Regions from separate parts of the Homo sapiens genome. Here region 1 is linked to region 2. Evidence: promoter capture Hi-C in 16 types of primary human blood cells and fetal thymus (Javierre and others, 2016). All regions are on one chromosome and are shown on one strand. The core of a region is centred on a gene start or on the middle of the fragment in contact, and the rest is flanking DNA. Distances in the headings are between cores, read along the strand shown.

Region 1 (6,424 bases), core at 605-3,104, 130 kb after region 2:
CTGTTGAAGGGAGAGACTTTTCTTTCTTGTAATGTTATTTTTAGGTTTCGCTCACAAGGTCATATTAGCCTCATAAAATGAGTTGAGAAGTATGCCCTCTTTCTCCATTATCTGTAAATGTTTGTGTCATATTGGTGTTATTTCTTCCTACATGTTTAGTTGAATTTTCTGGTGCAGCCATCTGTACCTGGAATTTTTTGTATGGCAATATTTTAAATGATGAATTCAATTTCCTCCATAGATATAAAATTTTTCAGATTTTCTTTTCAGTATTGGTCAGTTTGCTTTCTCTCTTATTTCATCAATTTCACCAGGGGTCCACCAGTTTCATTAGTCTTTGCAAAGAAACAATATTTGACCTTGTTGATCTTCCCTATTGTATGTCCATTTTCCATATTATTGATTTTTGCTCTTCATTACTTCCTTTATTATACTTTCTTGGGTTTGCTTTACTGATTTAAAAAACTTATTGACTTGGAAGCTTAGATCATTGATTTTTAGGATTTGTTATTATTTACATTAAATGCATATTAAGACATTTGTTCTAAATTCAGCTTTAGCTATGTATCTGAAGTTTTGATATATCATATCTTTATTACTATTGGAGTAAGAATATTTTCTAATACGCAGTGTGATTTATTCTTTGATATATGGGTTCTGAACCAAAATATGGGAGATTTTCTAATTATCTTTTGGTTACTGATTTCTATGTTAATTATACTATGGTCAGAGAGCACATTATGTATTATTTGGAACTGTGAACATTTGTTAAGATAGGCTTTATGGCCTAGCACATGACCAGCTTTGGTAAATAGTCTGTGTGTACTTGAAAGACTATGTATTTTTTGTTGTTGTTGGATGCATTGCTTTATATATATGTTGATTAAGTTAAGCTAGTAAATCATGTGGTTAGATCTTCTCTATCCCTACTGATAGTTTTTGTCTTTTTATTTTATGAATTACTCAGAGAAATATGTTAAACATCTGCTATGCATTTCTGTTGGTGTGGAATTGCAAGAGCATGGGATATTCCCATGTTGCTTCATTGGATACTGTTTTACAAAGTGGTTTTTTTTAGTTTGCACACCCATCAACATTTTATCAGGGTTCCATTACTCCAAATTTTCTCTGACACTTAGTATTATCTGTCTTTCTCATTTTGTCCATTTTGGTGTGAATTCAGTGGTGTTGCAGTATAAACTTAAATTTCTCTGATGACTAATAAAGTTAAACACTTTTTCATATACTTTTTTCACTATTGGATATCCTATTTTGTGAGGTGCCTATTTTAACCTTTTGTCCTTTTTTCTGTCGATTCATAGGAATTCTTTATCTATTCTGGATATAATTCCTTTATTGAATACATGTATTGCAAATATCATTTCTTACTTGATGGCTTGCCTTTTCATTCTCTTAATGATATCCATTGGGGAACAGAAATTCTTAATTTTAATATAGTCCAATTTATCAATATATCCTATATAGTTGATCCTTTGTGTGTTGTGGTTAAGAAGTTTCAGCTACCCCAATGTCGTAAATATATTCTCGTATGTTTTCTTCCATAAGTTTTATTGTTTCTTCCTTAAGTTTATGAGGTCTATAATTAGAAATTAGATCTTTTTTGTTTATACGAAGTAGAAATCAAGATTTATATACTTCTATATGTATATTCAGTTGACACAGCACCATTTATTGAAGATAACTTCCTTTAGTTGGCTGCAGTATCCCTTAGTCATAAATTAGGTGGCCGTATGTGTGTTGTCTGTTTTTTCACTCAGCATAATTCTCTTGAGATGTATCCAGGTTGTGTGTATTAATAGTTCACTTGGCGGGGTACCATGGCTCATGCCTGTAACCCCAGCCCTTTGGGAGGCCAAGACGAGCTGATCCCTTGAGCCCAGGAGTTCAAGACCAGCCTGGCTAACATGGCGAAACTCTGTCTCTACTAAAAATACAAGAATTAGCCAGGCGTCATGGCATGTGCCTGTAGTCCCAGCTACTTGGGAGGCTGAGGCAAAAGAATCATTTGAATCCAGGAGTCAGAGGTTGCAGTGAATGGAGATCACACCACCACCACTGCACTCCAGCCTGGGGACAGAACAAGACTCTGTCTCAAAAAAAATTTTTTTTCACTTGTTACTGCTGAGTATTATTTTATGGTATGGATACACCACAGTTTGTTTAACCACTTACCCTTTGAAGGACATTTGAATTATTTCCAGTTTTTGGCTACTAGAAATAAAGCTGCTATGAACAGTTGAGTACAAGTTTTTGTGTGAAGGTAAGTTTTCATTTCTCTGGAATAAAATGCTCAACAGTGCAATTGCTGGATTGGATATATGATAAGTTCATATTTAGTTTTGTGAGAACCTGTCATACTATTCTCCAGGGTGACTCTACTATATTTCCACCAGCAATGTGTAAATGATCCAGTTTCTGGACATCCTTGACAGAATTTGGTGTATCATTACTTTTTTATTTTAGCCATTCTGATAGGTGTGTAGTAATATCCCACTGTGACTTTAATTTGCATTTCCCTAATGGCTAAAGATGTTAAACAGTTTTTCATGTGTTTATTTCCCATCTGTATACTCTCTTTTTCTCTAGTGTCTTTTGTTCACTTTCTAATTGGATTGTTAATTATTTCTCTTGAGTTTTGAGAGCTCTTTTTATGTTCTGAATACAAGTCCTGGTCATTGCTTTTTAAGACAGAAAATACCTTTATTAAGATTTTTTTCTCCTCATCATTACTTCCCATTTTTCATTGCTTCTTTCTAAATTCATTTCTTTTTGCTGAAATACAAACTCTAAGAATTTTGAAGTAGTTTGGCTGGATATAATAGTTTACTTACAAGTTTCTTTAAGATTTTGATGCTCTTTTTTATAATCTTGTATATATAGTGTTTCTGTTGAGAAGTGTAATGTCAGTTTAAATCTTGTTGTTTTATAGATGTATCTTTTACAATTTTCTCTTTCTTATGACATTCTTACATTTTATTCTACTGGATCTAGGGGTGGGTTTAGTAATGCAGCAGATACTTTGAGGTCATATCTTTCTTTCATTTTTTCATGTTACTTTTAAATTTCTTTCCTTATATTCATTATTTAAAAAAAAAATCCTTCAAGGCATTGAAGATGCCATTAGACAGATGTTAACAGGATAGATGTTCATCCTCCATGTCTTATTTATTTTATTCTTTTCATGTCTTTATTCTGTTGCATTCTGGGAAGCTTCCTCTATCTGATTTTTCAGGTCACGAATTTCATCTTTGATTCTCTCTGTTCTACTCTTCTGTTTACCTATTTAATTATTTGTTTCAACAATGATATACTTTTTTGTTATTTTTGTTGTTTGTTTGTTTGAGACAGAGTCTTGCTCTGTTGCCTGGGCTGGAGTGCAGTGGCACGATCTCAGCTCACTGCAGCCTCTGCCTCCTGGGTTCAAACGATTCTCCTGCCTCAGCCTCCCGAGTAGTTGGGACTACAGGTGTGCACCACCACGCCGGGCCAATTTTTTGTATTTTTAGTAGAGATGGGGTTCCACCATGTTGGCCAGGCTGGTCTCAAACTCCTGACCCCAGGTGATCTGCCTGCCTTGGCCTCCCAAGGTGCTGGGATTACAGGCATAAGCCATCGCACCCGGCCATCAATGATGATGTACTTTATACATTGAATCCACTTGGTTCTTTTTTCACAGCAGTTGTTCTTGCCTTATGTTTCTAATATCCTCTTTTATTTTTCTGAGAGAACACTTTCACTTAAATTCTTGTTTGTGCTTTTCCATTTTCTTGCTTCTTGTGGTAAAGGATGCTTCATTTGTGGTTTTTCTTTCAAGATGTTTTTGCTTTTAATTTTCTTTTCCCATGAGCTTTCCTTCTTGGAACAATTAGCTGACTTGGCCTTAGTGTCCACCTGAGAGGAGGGAGAAAAGCCTAGGGTTAGCTCCTATGCCTTTAGGTGAGTTTAGTGTGTGGGTGTGGGCACATGTGGGTGCACATGTGTATGCGAATGCCCATCTGAATGCAGGGAACTTCTGGTGCCATAGTTTGGGCTCTTCTCTTCCTAAGAAAAATACAAGTTTTAGATAAGAATTTCCTTGACTTTCTTCACCCAAACCCCCAAATTTACCCTCATGCATATTGATCCTTTCCCACTATCTCTCATTTAAATGGAGGAGAGGGGATGTTTCTCTTTGTGTCTTTAAGCCTAATCCCTCCAAGTGTCCAAGTGGTCCCATTATACCGTGCCCTTTTTTTTTGAGACAGGATCTCACTCTGTCACCCAGGCTGGAGTGCAATGGTGCGATCATTCTTCACTGTAACCTGGACCTCCTGGGCTCTAGTGATCCTCCTACCTCAGCCTCCTGAGTAGCTGTGAATACAGGCATGTGCCACCATACCTGGCTAATTTTTGTATTTTTTGTAGAGGTGGGGTTACTCCATGTTGCCCAGGCTGGTCTCGAACTCCTGGGCTCAAGGGATCCACCTGCCTTGGCCTCCCAAAGTGCTGGGATTACAAACATAAGCCACTGTGACTGGGCCTCCGTGTTTTCTTTCAGCTTCCTCCCTATAGGTCTTCTTCTTGGTACAGCCAGATTTATTGACGGTATTGTCTGTTTTCATTGTTCCTAAGTATTTTCTTTCTACTTATACAGTGGGCAGACTCTAGCACTCTACTAAGAATGTCATGGACAACCTTATTGCTCAATCCAGGGGTCACTTTCAGTTACTTTCAGTTACTTTTCTTTTCTTTCTTTCTTTTTTTTTTGAGAGTCAGGTTCTTGCTATATTTCTCAGGCTGGACTCAAACTTCTGAGCTCAAGTTATCATCCTGCTTCAGCCTTCTGAGTAACAGAGACTATAGGTGCACGCCAATAAGCCTGGCTAGTCCTTTTCTTCTTTACTTTCTGTATCTATGTGTTACTGTTGAGTACTCCTTTCTTTCTAAACACTCACCTTTGCAGCCTTTATTCCCTCTGCTCTTCTCTTAAATGTTGGTGTTTCTTATTATTCTGTGCAAGGCAACATGATCCATGGCTGAATCTACTATTTACTGTGGATGTATAATGATGACTCTAAAAGCTCTATCCCCATTTTAGATCTCTTTCCCAAGTTTCCAACCTGTATCTAGGAACTCTTGCTCATTCTGTGTTTGAGATTCCATTCTCTTTCCCCTGAGTATCCTTCCCTAACTGCCCTCCTTCCCCACATCTGTGTTGGATGCCCTTCCTATTTGTCCCTAAAGCACCACCCTGTATTTGCCCACTAAGATTTCTTGTTTCCCCCACTAGAACGTAAATCTTATGAAAGCAGGGATTGTGTTTTCCTGGTGCCTGAAAGTGTCTATAGTGAATATTTAATAAATATTTATTTGCATGAGTGATATTCAAAACTCTCTTCTTCCTTTCCTAGTGTCAAATATTGGTGCAGATGGAATGCTTGATTTTCCAAAAACATCTCTTCTGGAACTTATGATAGGAAGAAAAGATGTTATTTCTGTGGATGCTGCTGTGAAATTTATAAAATTAGCTTTTACCTATGAGGAGTGGAGTTTATTTGAATCTTCTGCTGTACATCTTATTTATTTTCTCCAGGTAATATATGCAAAATTATCCTCCTGGTTTTTTTTTTGTTAAAATGACATCCAATTACTAATTAACGTGTGGGATATACTTCCCCAAGAGGCAGGATGATCCAGAGTCAAAGAAAGCAGAGAAGGATTTAACTCTTCTGATTGCAATGGAACCACTAATCAACGTGAAGAGAAACAAAGGTTTGATCTTTCCTTTGGAAAACTATAAAGAAGGACAGTCAACTCAAATTTATTTAAAAAAAATTGCTGTTCATGGTAAGTATTTATTTGTTTGTTCAAAAAATTTAGTTTGACGAAATATGCTCTTTTATAGATATGGTGAGAGAAAGGATGTTGAAGGCGGAGGGAGCAAGAGGTACAAAGGCCCTGAGACAAGAGTGTGTTTGGTGATTGCAGGAATGGCATGGGGGTATGTGTGACCAAGTGTGGTAGGTGACAAGGTTAGAGAAGTAGCTAGGCGCTAGATGATGTAGTTCCTGGGCTTTGTAAGGATGCTAGATTATATTCTGAGTGACAGTTTTGAGTAGGGGAATGAGGTTCTATTTACTTTCCGGCTTAGTTGGATAAGAGGGAGGCCCGCAAGGCAGTGAATCAGAGGACAAAGTCATCAGTTCATGTTAGGAAGGGAAGGTTTGGTAATCTCCTGTCTCTTTCCAGCTTGCAGTGTTTGCCATTCTAGGACTTTTCAAATCCTAAAAGTTATTGTGTGTATAATTGAAAACCTGCCGTGTCTGCTTTTTACACCAAAGAGAACTATTTAATTCCAGGTTTTTAATGTTTTGCCATGTTCTTAAGATATTGCATGGCTTATCAGTTGCAGTAAGTAATTTGT
Region 2 (6,649 bases), core at 979-3,478:
TCTTTATATTCCAATATTCTCTCTCATAACATAAAAAAGAATTTAAGGAATATCCCTTAGTCACATTTTCTTTTGTTCCAACCCACTGTTTATGGAAGCATGCAGATGTTAAGAGTTGCAAAAATTGAAATGACTTCATTAACAAAGCAACATCCCAACGTTTAATGTCAACTCCTCAGACTCATAAAAAAATGAAACAAAACCAATTATATTACCACTAGCAAATTTTTTCCCCTTAAAATCTAGTTTCGTCTTATTTCTAGTTTCAAGGCAAGCTTTGTCTACCCAAGGTATCAAAGGTCTTCAAATCTCATTCATTTTCTTCTGCCCAAGAGTTAAGAAAGTAAGTCTAAAACAGAACAAGCCAGATTTGTTGCTGTGATCTTCTCACACGAACGCCTTTTAAAAGAAATCTTTCAACAAAGACTCAAAAAAGAAACAGCAAAGTTTGGGGAAAGAATTGTCTGTCTTTAGGTCAAGCATTTCCTGATAAGTGACTGAAGGTCTGGCTGCCAGGAATACACTTTGCTGACCCTAGGAATGGCCAAGTCTCAAAACAAAATTTGCCTCTTCTGTATCTTGAAAGTGACCTGTTAGGACCTGATGTCAATTTGACGAAGAGGTGATAGAACATGACCAACGAGGTGTCTTTGGTGGACATATTCATGTAAAGGAGGCGAGAGCCACAGATTTCAGCTAAACGCTTTTTGCCACTTTTGCAAAAGAAAAGCTAATTGTTAACGGCCATGTGACATTATAGATCCCAGAAAAGGAAAGGGTGGGAGGAAGAGAGAGAAGTTCAAGGCAGTTCAGGGTCAGAACAAGCTCAGACATCCTGTCATTAACAAATGTTCCCCAAGCTGAAAGCAAAATACTGCTTACCCGAAAAGGAGTGGGTGAAAAGTAGGGGGAGAACGAGGGAAAAACCACAGGAGAGTCAATGTGGCAGTGTGGGGGTGACAGGAGGGAGGGAATCTGGAGCTATCCAGCTGAGTTGGGGAGCAAAAGCATCGGGCATAGCATCGGGCACAAAAATGCTGAGAAAAGCAACTGCGACGGAGACAGCACTAGGCACCCTCCTCCCCCCATTTTCCCCTCCCCATCGGTTTGCTGGGTTTCCCACCTTCCCTCTACCTCCGCTCTTGACCAACACTCCGGGGTGTGACCCGCCAGCAGGAGGCTGCCCTGATCTTTGTCTCTACCCGCTCCCACGCGCGGGCTCCTCCTCCTCCTCCGCGCTCCCCACCCGCGCACAGCGCCAGCGTCTCCAAGGAGCTGCAGGCGCCGCGACCGCCGCCTCCTCGCCCACCTCCCGCGGACCCGCGCCCCTTCCTTCCCCTCCCGGGCAGCGTCGCCTGCGCCTCCAGCTCCACCCCCGCCGAGGGGACCTTTGTGTCTCGGGGGACTTTCTGCCTCTTTCCCCTCCTCCGCCTCGCGAGGAGACCGGCCTCCCCCGCAGACCAAAGCGGCAGCGAGCACCGGAGGCGGCGGCGTCTATATCTGTCGGCGCCTCCTGGGAAGCAGCTCGCAGACACTCACACCCCACCCGAGCCCCGGAAATCCCCGGGCGACCCAAGGTCCTCGCTGGACCGGAGAGGTGACAGGCGCACGCTAGCCCCCCGCGCCGCGCCTCCTCGCTCAACTTCCCGACCGGGCCTGAGCCACCCGCGCCCCCAGTAGCCCCCGCCCCCGCCTCTGTCCCACGCAGCCTCCCGGCCCCGCGGCCGACCCGACACCAGGGGAAAGCGCGGCGCGGACGCCAGCCGCCAACTCACCAGCAAGAGCGGGGACCGCGGGTCCCGAGGCGAGGCGAAGAGAGGCGCGGGGGGAAGCTGCTCCGCGGACGCCCGCGGCGACCGGATGCAAGTCCGGGTCTCAGCGGCCGGCAGACGTGAGGCGCTTCCGAGCGCAGGCCTCCGCCGCCACAGCCGCCTTCCGGCTCTCGCCGCGGGTCCGGAGCCTCGGGAGGGGCCGCGGGTGTCTCACGCGTTGCCAAGTCCCTCGGTCAACATGGCTCCCGCGCCGACGAGCCGCGCGGACGGCCCACTAATCCCCTCGGAGCAGCCGGGCGCGAGCGCGGCGGGCGCCGACGGCGGGCTGAGACTGTCTGGCCGGGCGCTGGCTCCTTCTCCGCGGCTCTGCGGCGGCCCGCGGGGAGCTCAGGAGACTGCGGGCGGCCGCGTTCGCTCCTTGCGTGTGCGTCGCTTTCACACTCGGCGGCTGCGGATTGACGCCTCCGCCTGTTCCCCGGAGGAGAGCGAGTGCAAGAGAAAAAACACTTTTATTGAAACGATCCAACCAGCGGCGGCGGAGAAAAGCGACCGGCCGCGGGAGCTTACCCCACCCCCGCCTGAGCGGCTCGCCGGGGGCAGCGCGACCCCTGCCGGCGGCGGCGGAGGCGGGGGCGGGGCCGGCGGCCGGGGGCGGGGCCTGCAGGGCGGGGCGGGTGTCCCCGGGAAACTGCCCGCTCCGAAATGCGGGCGTCGGGGGAGCGGCGGAGGGGGCCAGGGGACCCCACCGGAATGAGTGCCTGTCCGCAGCGACTGGGGGAGAAATTATGTGAATAATTCAGCCCCTCCAACATCCCCCTGCCCCTCAACTTCCCGCTACCAAACCAAAACTCGTGCTTCAGTTATACAAGTAATTACTGTACAAGGTGTCCATGCCACAGTTCTCCACTGACTTTCTAGAGAGTCCATGTCAAAGGACCCACACTGAAAGATGTTGATGGCTGCAACTTTTCTCCTTTGTTGTGTGTGGGTACGTGGGTACTAGTGCCGCAGTCTCTCACACACACGGCATCTATTCATTTAAACTACAGTACAGTGTTTTGTATATATTATCATGTGCCCGGCAATATGCTGAGTCCTCTAAGGACGGAGAGTCTAGCTGGGATGAAAGATGATCAATAACTATCATAAAAATCTGAACGTTATGAGCGGAGAAATACAAGGTGCTATGAAAACAGAAAGGACTACTGTTGCACGGGTTAGGTTTTGTTTTCTTGGGGGAGGCGGGCCGCGAGAGGTTGGCCCAGTTTCTGCAACTGTTTTTACTTTCTCCTTTCCCAGAGGCTAAAAGCTAGTTCAGGAATGAACAGCAGAGTGGCAGTGAAGACAAACTAAAGTAATACTGACCCACTTTTTTCCACTAATAAGGATAAAAGCATAAAGTTAAAACAAACTTAAACCCCTAGAGGGAGATAATGAGAGGATTGAAAGAAGAGAGTAGGGACCGGATGTAGACAACATAAACAAGAAAAAAAAACCCACATAAAAGTCCTGTGAAGTGAGATAAATTTTTTTTCCCATGTTAACACCCGGAAGTAGAAGCTGCTTTGAAGTTTCAAATCACATTATGTGCTAAGAACTTCGGGGAATTATCTTTTTGGATTTAGGGATGAATCCTTTCCCCCTTAAAAATGCTGCATGCTGACATCTTTCTCTTATTTTGTTTGGCAAAGTTAAATGCATCTACAGTTATATCCAACGATCGTACGTGTCAATCAGGCTTTTCCCATGCCTCTAAAATTACCAGGACCCGTAAATTAGCAACAATTATGCTCTACGCGTATTTAACACTTGTTTACCAACCAAGAATGCAAATATACATAACAAGCTTTCCGTTAGAACAAGTGCGCTTTGTTTAAAAGCACTGTTAATGAGGCTTTTTAGATTTGTCCAAGTCAAACTTGGAACTTTATAATATAGCAAGATGTAGCATCATTTTCAGAGTTCTTTTTAAGTTAAAGAGAAACACTGATATTTATACAAGGCCTATTTATATGAAAGGATTTTCATATACTTGCCTCATCTAAATTAGTACTTTAGTAAATATCAAAAAATCACCAAAAAAGGGAGTCTATGAAATGGCATTCTGAGTTTCAGCATTAATACTTATACCTTCATATCATTAGATTAACATTACTCCATGAGAAATAAAAAGATTATTCTGTCTCATCCAAAGCACCCTCTCCTCTTTCTACATCTTTCATTAGCATAACAAAGAATTCGTAATTGGGAGGCTGAGGTGGGAGGATCCATTAAGCCTGGGAGGCGGAGTTTGCGGTGAGCTGAGATTCTGCCACTGCACGCCAACCTGGGTGACAGAGTGAGACACCGTCTCAAAAAGAAAAAAAAAAGACGAATTCATAATGAAAACTTAGGTGATTATTTGATTGATTGGTTTGTTATTTCTTTTTTTTTTTTAAGACAGAATTTTGCTCTTGTTGCCCAGGCTGGAGTGCAGTTGCGTGGTCTCAGCTGACTACAACATCCGCCTCCCAGGTTCAAGCGATTCTCCTGCCTCAGCCTCCCAAGTAGCTGGGATTACAGGCATCCGCCACCACGCCCGGCTAATTTTTTGCATTTTTAGTACAGACAGGGTTTCACCCTGTTGGCCAGGCTGGTCTCAAACTCCTGACCTCAGATGATTCACCCTCCTCGGCCTCCCAAAATGCTGGGATTACAGGCGTGAGCCACCGTGCCTGGAGGATTTGTTCTTTCAATGAAAAAAAAAATTACAGATTGCACAATATTTATTTCATTACTTTTCATATTTATTTATTTATTTATTTATTTAAATGAGATGGAGTCTCACTATGCCGACAGCCCAGGCTGGTATTAACTCCTGACATCAAGCAATCCTCCAACCTCGGCCTCCCAAAGTGCTGAGACTACAAACAGGAGCCACCACCCCTGGCCTATTTATTTATCTGTTTATTTATTTATTTTTAGAGGGAGTCTTGCTCTGTCACCCAGGCTGGAGTGCAGTGGCATCATCTCAACTCACTGCAATCTCCATCTCCTGGGTTCAAGCAATTCTCCTGCCTCAGCCTCTTGAATAGCTGAGATTACAGGTGCCCATCACCACGCCCGGCTAATTTTTGTATTTTTAGTAGAGGCGGGGTTTGGACATGTTGGCCAGGCTGGTCTCGAACTCATGAGCTCTAGTGATCCAAAGTGCTGGGTGAGCCACAGCACCCAGCCCCATGGCCTATTTAATTACTTTTCTAAACCGATTTAAAATTTGGCCAGGCGCGGTAGCTCACACCGGTAATCCCAGCACTTTGGGAGATCGAGGCAGGTGGATCACTTGAGCTCATGAGTTCGAGACCAGGTTGGCCAAAATAACAAAACCCCATCTCTACTAAAAATACAAAAATTACCCAGGCGTGGTGGCAGGAGCCTGTAATCCTAGCTACCCAGGAGGCTGAGGCAGGAGAATCGCTTGAACCCAGGAAGTGGAGGTTGTAGTGAGCTGAGATCACACCACTGCACTCCAGCTTGGGTGACAGAGCAAGACTCTGTCTGAAAAAAAAAAAAAAAAATTATATGTAATATTGTGAGCATGTTAGTTGTTTTTTCCGTAGGTTGTAATATAGGCTTTTTTTTTTACCTTGTAAAACTATGTTAAATTATAAAATTACTTAGAATATTTCCCTAACTGTCATTAATAGATATTCCATAGTGCTTAGTGGAGGAGAAAGATTGAGGAAGAATTCCAAGATCAAATCCACTTGAGGAATGCCACATACTTTATCTCCCTTTTGGAAATTCACAATATACATTTACGTATTTAAGGCTCTTAGAAGTTCTGAGATTGAAAAATAATCTTCTTTCCAGTGAAACAAGTATATCCCAAAATGTTTTCACCATAGAATAGCTATATCATGTGACATATATAAAAATATTGAGGGGAGAAAATTTTGAAGGTCATTGAACTTTGGACAAAGAGAGTTAAATGTGGTAAGTCCAGAAAATCTTTGCTGGGATTCACATTCTGAAAATGACACTGTCTGGGAAACAAATATGAAACTTTCAGGTAAGATACAAACAAGAAACACTTAAGCTGGTTTTCAATTGCTCTACATCAGTGGTTCTCAGCAGTGTTACCTGGGAATTTCTTAGAAATGCAAATTCTCAGTTCCCGCTCCAGACCAACTGAATCAGAAACTCTAGTGTGGGGCCCAGCAAACTGTTTACAGAGATTTTCTAAGATTCTGCTGAACAATAAAGTTTGAGAATCACTGCTCTATACAACATCAATACATAGCTTTGTTTACAAAACAATTTTCCATATGTCTGAATTTCTGGACTATTTCTAATTATTTCATATTCCTTAAAAATTCTCAAAGAAATTAGATTACTGACCAAATAGAAAAAACACTTTTTGTCTGGGTTCATTCCCTGTTTTACTAGGCTGAATCATATAGGAAGTCTGTGTGTTTGTTTGCTTGTTTTGCAAGAAGAATAAAGCAAATTAAGCTAAGGACAGCAATCAACAATTTTCCCCCAATAGCAAAATAATTTTACATTTGGCAAAAATGAAGCTGTAGGCAAGAAAGGAGTTTTGTCAAAGGCTTTTTAAAACCTGCTTCAAAAATGAAACATCTAGCCAGGCCTTAACATTTATTTTTAATATTTTGTACCATCCCAACACCTGCAAAACAGCTATATACCATTGCATAATGATACAGTTGTACCCTGTCACTTAAAGCTTAATGGTAGAGATTTTACAGAGCAGATCTATTTGATATTATCAGAATACCTCCATAGATTTACAAGTTACAAATTTGGGGAGGGAAAATTTCTTCCCTATTTACATGTAAAATTTCAAATTTGGTGTACCAGATTTAACCCTAGAGGAT

The links. The method cuts DNA at HindIII sites, captures the fragments that hold promoters and counts their contacts. A CHiCAGO score of 5 or more calls a contact.
Region 1: a fragment that was not itself captured here is called in contact with the fragment with the promoter of CDK17 in region 2 in 4 of 17 cell types (neutrophils, total CD8 T cells, endothelial precursors and 1 more); the score reaches 9.2 in neutrophils.

The regions. Positions count from the first base shown.
Region 1 is chr12:96,528,381-96,534,804 of GRCh38, forward strand. CFAP54 (cilia and flagella associated protein 54) reads left to right here. Exons shown (of 68, transcript NM_001306084.2): 10 at 5,412-5,593; 11 at 5,682-5,847. Among named protein-coding and RNA genes, the nearest start is that of CFAP54, 42 kb to the left of the region's middle. The HindIII fragment of the contact is 2,750 bases long and covers 480-3,229 here.
Region 2 is chr12:96,398,211-96,404,859 of GRCh38, forward strand. CDK17 (cyclin dependent kinase 17) reads right to left here and starts at 2,229. Exons shown (of 17, transcript NM_002595.5): 1 at 1,776-2,229. RefSeq lists silencers at 1,633-1,792, 1,973-2,152, 2,243-2,572, 5,886-5,985 and an enhancer at 2,993-3,212. The HindIII fragment of the contact is 3,343 bases long and covers 274-3,616 here.